Regions from separate parts of the Homo sapiens genome. Here region 2 is linked to region 1. Evidence: promoter capture Hi-C in human tissues and cell types (Jung and others, 2019). All regions are on one chromosome and are shown on one strand. Each heading gives the region's core, a stretch centred on a gene start or on the middle of the fragment in contact. The rest is flanking DNA. Distances are from core to core; before and after follow the strand shown.

Evidence for each region. Contacts are between HindIII fragments. The study calls those that stand out against the background at their distance.
Region 2: a contact is called between a fragment that was not itself captured here and the fragment with the promoter of OTC in region 1, in 1 of the 25 tissues and cell types used here (ovary).

The regions. Positions count from the first base shown.
Region 1 is chrX:38,350,713-38,355,227 of GRCh38, forward strand. OTC (ornithine transcarbamylase) reads left to right here and starts at 1,892. Exons shown (of 10, transcript NM_000531.6): 1 at 1,892-2,061. The coding sequence starts at 1,985. The HindIII fragment of the contact is 4,808 bases long and covers 1-2,486 here.
Region 2 is chrX:38,311,097-38,315,611 of GRCh38, forward strand. All of the region lies in intron 6 of RPGR (retinitis pigmentosa GTPase regulator), which reads right to left. Among named protein-coding and RNA genes, the nearest start is that of RPGR, 14 kb to the right of the region's middle. The HindIII fragment of the contact is 7,823 bases long and covers 1-4,515 here.

The sequences.
Region 1 (4,515 bases), core at 642-3,141:
CTCCTGCATCTGTAGCATTAGGAGGGTTTGTGAGTTGCTTTGGCATCTCAGAAATGCTGCCTGTACTCTCTAGCATGGAACTGCAGACACTTCTTGATTTCTCCCCAAGCATTACCAATATGAGTTGTGTGTATGGCTAGCACAGTTCAGTGAAGATATGGGGTCAAGCTATGGGCTTTATATTAGCCTGTGGTTTGGCCTCATCTCCCTCAGGCTCCATGCAAACGTTCAATTTCACTCCTGTATTATGTGGAGCGCTTTTGCTCTCTGAAACCTATTCAATAACTGGCCTTGTTTGCCTCTTCAAAGATGCTTTATTATGTTTTTTAAATTCACTCTCTCCCTTCTCACCTCTGTACCTTTGCAAGCAGTTGCTTCTGCCTGGAATATCCTTTCCAGAATGGAAGATTTGGTAGAGGTTGGGAAATGTCAGTCTTTCCCCTCACTTTATCTCACATCATTCTCTGTAAGTAGAAGGAAATGGTGACAATATTTATTTCTCTACTAGTATTAATTATGACATCACAAACATCTCGGCTCCTGAGGTGGCCATAGTTGGTCTTTAAATAACACTTTTTGGTATTCCACAAACTTCTGGAAAATATTTACTTGGGTTTGCTAAAGTCATATAAATTGACCAGAAGAGGCAGCCCTACCCCTGCCCCTCCTCTCCTTCCTCCTACCCTTCCTACCTTAGAGGGCTCCCGCTTCTTCGAAGCCAGACAACTTTGTCTGGACCTCTCCTATGGGCTTGTATTATGGATATTTGTTTATAAATCATACCACCTTTACTGAACTGTGAACTCTGCAAAGATGATGTCATCTTCCCTCTCTGAAACTTCAGTGCAGCTCGGTATCTGATACAGAATTGACTTTGAATCACCTGATTTCTAACTGAGGATAAATGAATAAATGTGAAGTTGCAGATGGCCCCTTAGTGATCTGAATAGGCTGCTAGGGGAAGAGCATATGGTATCCCCACTTCCCACTTGTACTGACTGTCAGGTGCTGTTAGAATCAATAGGCAACTATTTCTTTTCTTTTTCTTTCTTTCTTTCTTTTTTTTGAGACAGTGTCTCTCTCTGTCACCCAGGCTGGAGTACAGTGGTGCAATCTGGGCTCACTGCAACCTCTGTCTCCCGGGTTCAAGCGACTCTCATGCCTCAGCCTCCCAAATAGCTGGGATTACAGGTGTGCACCACCACGTCTAGCTAATTTTTGTATTTTTAGTGGAGACGGGGATTCACCATGTTGGCCAGGCTGGTCTCGAACTCCTGGGCTCAAGTGATCCGCCCGCCTCAGCCTCCCAAAGTGCTGGGATTACAGGCGTGAGCCACCGTGCCCGGCCAGCAATTATTTCTTTATTGAAGACTTATGTGCAAGGCACAAAGGGAGCTCCAGGACTGAGATATTTTTACTATACCTTCTCTATCATCTTGCACCCCCAAAATAGCTTCCAGGGCACTTCTTTCTATTTGTTTTTGTGGAAAGACTGGCAATTAGAGGTAGAAAAGTGAAATAAATGGAAATAGTACTACTCAGGACTGTCACATCTACATCTGTGTTTTTGCAGTGCCAATTTGCATTTTCTGAGTGAGTTACTTCTACTCACCTTCACAGCAGCCGGTACCGCAGTGCCTTGCATATATTATATCCTCAATGAGTACTTGTCAATTGATTTTGTACATGCGTGTGACAGTATAAATATATTATGAAAAATGAGGAGGCCAGGCAATAAAAGAGTCAGGATTTCTTCCAAAAAAAATACACAGCGGTGGAGCTTGGCATAAAGTTCAAATGCTCCTACACCCTGCCCTGCAGTATCTCTAACCAGGGGACTTTGATAAGGAAGCTGAAGGGTGATATTACCTTTGCTCCCTCACTGCAACTGAACACATTTCTTAGTTTTTAGGTGGCCCCCGCTGGCTAACTTGCTGTGGAGTTTTCAAGGGCATAGAATCGTCCTTTACACAATTAAAAGAAGATGCTGTTTAATCTGAGGATCCTGTTAAACAATGCAGCTTTTAGAAATGGTCACAACTTCATGGTTCGAAATTTTCGGTAAGTGATGGTCAGAGACTTGGGTTTGATTTAGGAATCATGGTGATGCATAAAACTATATTCTGCAGTAAGGCCTCTTTCTGCAGAATGTAGTGCCACGCTCTGCTTTACTCTTATTTGAGACAGCTGCCTCTAATTCCAGCAAAGCTTTCATTTCTCAGTCCTTCTGTAATCAGATTTCACCGTGTGCTGTAGGGGAAGCCACCCATGGCAGGTATAACAGACTAAACGTTCTTGACATCTTTCGTTTGTGTACATTCTAAACGAGCAAGTGGCTGAAGGAAATTAGGGGAAGTAATTTACACAGGGCCTTCAGCTTATATTTGGGCTTGCTATAAAACAATATATCACTCTAAGATGTTGAGACTAATCAGTTCTTTTGAAAAAACAGACTCCAAGTAGCAACTAATAAATACTGACAAAGCTGCTGCAAAGACGCCTTATATGTGATGGGGATAACGACATTTTTAAATAAAATACAAGTTTGAAAACCATCCCTGAAATTCTTGCTGGCATGTGCAAAGCAGGCTGTCTCCAATGAATTCATTATAAAAGTTTACATCCTGCTTACAACCATTGTGCATGTGGTTGAAGATGGCATGGAGTGTGTCTGTGGGGAAGGGAAAGGGGAAGGGGAAGGGAACAGGGGAGATGAGTTAGCTGGGTAAACAAGGCCATCAGGTGGAGACATCACTACCAGAAAGCTTCTAGAACAGTTTCATGTTAATAATGAGACAGAATTTCTTCAGAGCCTCTTTATAACCTAAAGCAACCTTCCCGACTTCCTTAAGGAAGAAGCTTTTGGTCTGAAGTTTTCTTTTATTATTAGTAAGTGGACCTGTGATAGTGGCCCTGGGCATCCCTTCTCTGGAGCAGCTGACAGTTCTAGGTTCTCTGGACTCCACCATTAGCACTACTTCTTTAGTGAATATAAGGCTCTCAGAAGTCAGAATGATACCGTAAATAATATTGTAAATTAAGCCCATAATATTAGACCTAGTTGAGACCTCAGAGCCATGAAATAATGCCTTCTCTTATTTTATTTTGGGAGGAAATGTGATTTTTATTTCTTAAACAGCTCAAATATTCAATTGAAATTGTTTCACTTCTCTTATTTCAAGTATAAGGTAAAAAAAGCCCAGAATGACTGTGGGGTTTACCAATTAGTGCCAGAGTTAGATCAGATAACAACCTGGAGAAAAGTTTAAAGAACTAGGTTCAAGGCCTAGCACCACCCTTGCTGGCTATATGACCTTGAACAAGTCACTAAACTTTTCTGCAATGTTGTTTCACCTATAAAATGGAAAAAAGGATAATACCTGTTCTGCCTACATTACAGGGTGGTTCAATCATTCCTTCAACAAATATTAATTGAACATCTACTTTGTGCCATGCCCTATCAAGGAGTTGGAGATACGGTGGTAAATAACGTAAAAATATACTTCACTCCAGCTACATGAATTCATAGTCTAGTGATAATCAGTGAGATAATGTATATGAAACCTAAAAAGTGACAGACCAATGTTCATTATTTATTTTAGTATTCCATTACACTGAGTTACATCAGATAAAAATGTGATGAAATTTTATTCTATAGCTTTTAACAAGGAATCATCACTGAGTTGAAAACACCCAACTGAATGAATAATCAAAGCCTGGAACTTAAACTTATACTGTTCTTTGAAAACTACAATGATAATTGATTTTTAAAATAATTATTACGGATTAAATTTTGCAAGTAAAACCTCCTCCAAACAGTTGAACTTTTTTTTTTTGTATTTACTAATACACTACTGTCTATATCCAGTAGCCAGACTACATTTCTGAAAATCCTGGTGAGCTATTTCTCACAGTGAATGGGGGCTGGCACAAAAGTATGGCTAAATCGGCCCAAATCCAAACTTTCTATTTGAAAGTGTGAAAGCCTCGAGTCACCCATGTTGTTAGAAACTCAATAGTGTGAATCTCTATTGAAAAATGAGATAATGTTGAAATGGTTTCGACATGCATTCTCACGTGGCATAGGTATTTTTCTTTCCTACTGTATTGGTTAGTTGCACTACCTGTCAGCTAGATAAATTCAGAATTTCTGGTCTCCAATAAGACTTACAACCTTTGACAAAGCCCTCAACAACAGAGAAAAACTCCCTGTCAACTCTGCCTGTTCTATATTTTTGCTTTGATTTTCAGCCTTTCACAGGGATTCGAGTTATTTTTTTCTCCCACATCTCTTGGGAAAGGTGGAGGGCCCTTGTTATGTAACATACCACGTGAGTTTACTACTCCAGAATAATAGGAAATATGTGGTTAGAATTTGATGGTGCCACAAAATAGGAATCGCAGTTTTGAAGTGAGCGGTCATATCGCCATGGACATGATAAAATAATAGCTTAAGTGAGGCTGAAGCCATCCACACAGCCCCTGGATCAATCACTTTTAGTCAGTTAAATTTTT
Region 2 (4,515 bases), core at 124-2,623, 40 kb before region 1:
ATGGTATCCCCAAAACCTAGCAGTGTCTAGAACAAGCACTTAATATTTGTGGAATAAATGAATGAATAATTGCTTTATATGAAACTGGTTTTAGAAAACTCACTTATGTGTGCAGTAAATATGTTAAGTAAATCTTAAGATAGCAGATTTTACCCATTTAGATGGCACTTCCTCCAAAGACTCTTACCAAGGAGTTCCTGACACTTAATCACTGCCCTGTCCATACTAACGCTATTAATTTGCTTCTTTATTACATTTATCACACTGTATTATGACTGTGAACTTCTTGAAAGCAAGAACTTTCTTATTCATTTCTATGCAATTAACTGAGTTCTATAAAGTAGAATTTAAAAACCTTGTGTAAGTATATGATCCAATCTGAAGAATGACATGGAACATATCACCATTGGTATAAGCAAAGAGACAACAGAGCAGATCTGCTTGCTTATTCTTTGCAAGTCTCTGAGAGAACCATGATTGATCCTTGCCCAACCCCTGAGAAGGTGGCCCCTGGAGTGTTCTTTATGTGAATGATTAATGATTTTGTTATATATACCAGAGCAATGAACTATGCCAGATTAGGTTTGTCAGGGCTGCTTGCACAAACATCAACATTGATGATGTGCACCTGGCTTCATTATTGAGGGTCCTGAGTTTCAGCTGCTGTGGCCAGTTGCTAGCAGGAGGTGCCTACATGACCAGCCCCCTAAATCCCCTAGAAGCAACAGAATGGGCTTCCCTGGGCAGAGACATTCCACACATGTCCCTGTAGTTCACTGCTAAGAAAACATGCCCTGTGTGGTTTCCTAAGAGAAAGTACTAGGAAGCCCAAGCTTGACTTCTCTGGACTCCACTGCAGATGCTTATCTTTTTCCCACTTTTTCTTTTTGCTTTGTATCCTTTGCTGTAATAAATCTTATTCGTAAGTATAATCGCTATTGAAGACTGTGAGTCCTTCTAGAAAATCACAGAACTTCAGGAAGGTGTGGGACAGCCAATGCACAAGATATGCACCACTTAGAACTTGCTCAAATACTGTAAACACAGCTATATTGATTTTCTGAATTGATCTGCACAGAAAATGAAGTTTTATGGACCACAGTTTTCTATGAAGTATTTAGCAAACACTGGCACAAAAGTGGTGCCCAGTAAGTTAGCACCCTTCCATTTTCCCATGCTTGTTGCCTCCCATAGGAAACTGGTTCCTAAGTCCTGATGAGTCTCTCTCCATTTCTGTCTATAGATTCCTGATTCCCTTTACACCTTAACATGAATTTTCACCTGGATCAAGTTTTCCAAATGTCTTTCCTACCTCTAGTCTAACATACCCACACAATATCAGATGCATCTTCCAAAAACAAGGCTCTAATTATGACACTTCCAAATAAAAAAAAAATACATGTATCAAGTACAAACTGCAGACTGTTACAAGAGACCTTCCATATTAGGTTCCCGGACTACTAACCAGTCATATTTCTATCTACTCCCCAACCTGGTGACTCTCTTTTGAGTCACATCCTCCCTTGGGAATTTGATGACAGCTCTATAAAAAAAGTACACATCCCAGCAGGGTGTGATGGCTCATGCCTGTAATCCCAGCAGTTTGGGAGGCCGAGGCTGGTGGATGGCTTGAGTCTAGGAGTTTGAAACCAGTCTGGGCAACATGGTGAAACCCAGTCTCTACAAAGAATACAAAAATTAGCCGAGTGTGGTGGCACGCATCTTTGTCCTAGCTACTCGGAGGAATGAGGTGGGAGGATCACTTGAGCCCAGAAGGTCTAGGCTACAGTGAGCCGTGATTATGCCACTGCACTCCAGCCTGGGCAACAGAGTGAGACCTAGCTCAAAAAAAAAAATGCACCTACCAAATTTAGCATATCATTTCAGGGGTTTACATTCCTTTAGGATCCATGATCCCTAACCTCTAAACAAACAACCTCTAAACAAACTCAACTATGCAATAATCTCCAAATACATGATTTACTTTTCTGTCTCTATATCTCTGCACATGTTTTTGTCTCTGCCTGGATTGTTCTTCCCTCATCTCTGTCTCTCTCAGAGTTGTTTCCATCTTTCATGGTTAATCTCAAATACCACCCTTTCTCTGAAATATGTCCTGACGCCCCTAACAAGAAATAATATTTTTTCTTTCTTGTTCTCACGTAAGACTCTGCTATCAAATGTCTTACGTTACCAATCATGGTCTGCTGTATATTGCAGTTATTGGTCTAGCACAGTAGCAAAAAGTATGTGCTACAGAGTCAGACTGCCTTGTTTGCATGTGGATTCTGCCACTTACTGAGTCATACTGAGCAAGTTGTTCAATCACTGGGCCTGTAACATGGGGATAAAAGTGCCTATGTGATAGGGTTGTTTCATAGGAATAACCGAATTAATGCATTCAAAGGCACATAGAACACATAATCAGTGCCTGGTCATTATTAGTTGCTACCACATCCTCCTCTTCCTCTTGTATATGGAGAGAAACTGCATGTCAGTAGAAATTGTTCAGGCTTTTAGAACTGGAAGACTGGAGTTCGAATTCTGATTCTGCAACTCAATCGCAGCATCACCTTGAATAAAACTGTGTTCTAAACCTGCCTGCATATATGGAATCTCAGATACCACCACCTCTCTCCCAGAGTGGTTGGGAGATTAAATGAAATATATTCGTACTTGAAAATGCTTTGTACATGGAAAAACTATACATCCTATAGTTTGACTGTAAACTTCAGAAGGGTAGGTACTACATTTTAATCAACTTGGTATTGTAAGAAATATCATTTAAAATGACTTTTACATAGTAAGTTGATGAAGTTTCTCACAGTGTCGACTTTTTAAAGTAAAATGTTTTACCTATAAAGCAGGGGTGTCCAATCTTTTGGCTTCCCTGGGCCACACTGGAAGAATTGTCTTTGGTCACACATAAAATACACTAATACTAACGATAGCTGATGAGCTAAAAAAAGAAAAGGTCTGTGCATAAATCTCATGTTTTAAGAAGGTTTACAATTTGTGATGGGCGGCATTCTAAGCCATCCTAGGCTGCGGGTTGGACGAGCTTGCTGTAAAGGGTTAGAAAAGATATTTCCTGTAGCTATCAGTAGGACCTTCCTTAAAGGGGAAGGTGAGTGCTTTTAATCCATATAAAATGTTTTATTTAATTCCAAGGTATTTTTCTTATTTATATATAAAAAATAAAATAACATTTATCACAAAGAATAAATAGGTCATTTCATATCAATTATATCTACTTCACTTAGGCCTATTAATTTTTATAAAATCTGGATTCCTCAAACTCTCTACCTGGCTCTGACAGCTACCTTCCCCAGGATTCTGATCTTAAGCACACTGCCAAGTCTCTATTCTCCAGTATCTGAAGATTGCTCCACAAATTCCTGCCCCCAGTTCCCATAACCCCAACTCATTTACTTATATCCCCTATTGTACTACACCTAATTCAGTGAATCACTGGTTAAAATGCTCAGACCCAACCATTAACATATCAGATGAAAAGACACAGCAATCAGGGATAATACCTGAAAACTCCATAGATTTTATTTATCTATAAGATCTAAAAATTGAATATTTTATATAATTTATAATATGAACTTGAATTGAGAACATGAATTTAAAACACGAACATGAGCATTTAAACATATTAGTAGGTGAAAAATCTGTAGGAAGTCTTAAACATAACTATCTTAGTAATATGTTCTGTATTTTTATTAGGAAATAAACTATTCTGTTTGGAGGTTCCTCAAAAAACTAAAAACAGAGTTACCATATGATCCAGCAATCCCACTGCTGGGTATATACCCAAAAGAAGAGAAACCAGTATATCAAAGAGATATCTGCACTCCCATGTTTGTTGCAGCACTGTTCACAATAGCCAAGATTTGGAAGCAACCTAAGTGTTCATCAATAGATGACTGAATAAAGAAAATGTGGGGCCAGACGCGGTGGCTCACACCTGTAATCCCAGCACTTTGGGAGGCCAAGGAGGGTAGATTACCTGAGGTCAGAAGTTCAAGACCAGCCTGACCAACATGGTGAAACCCTGTCGCTATTAAAAATACAAAAAAAATAGCTGGGCATGATGGTGGGCGCCTGTAATTCCAGCTACTCAGGAGGCTGAGGCAAGAGAATCGCTTGAACCTGGGAGGCAGAGGTTGCAGTGAGCCGGGACTATACTACTGTACTCCAGCCTGGGCAACAGAGCAAGACTCTGTCTCAAAAAACAAGAAAAAATGTGGTACTTATGCACAATAGAGTACTATTCAGCCATGAAAAAGAATGAGATCCGGTCATTTGCAATAACGTGGATGGAACTGGAAGTCATTACGTTAAATGAAATAAAACAGGCACAGAAAGACATACACTGCGTGTTCTCACTTATTTGTGGGATGTAAAAATCAAAAGAAACTCATGGAAATAAAGAGTAGAAGGATTGTTACCAAAGGCTAGAAAGGGTAGTGGGGTGTGTGTAGGAGGGAGGTTAATGGGTCCAAAAAT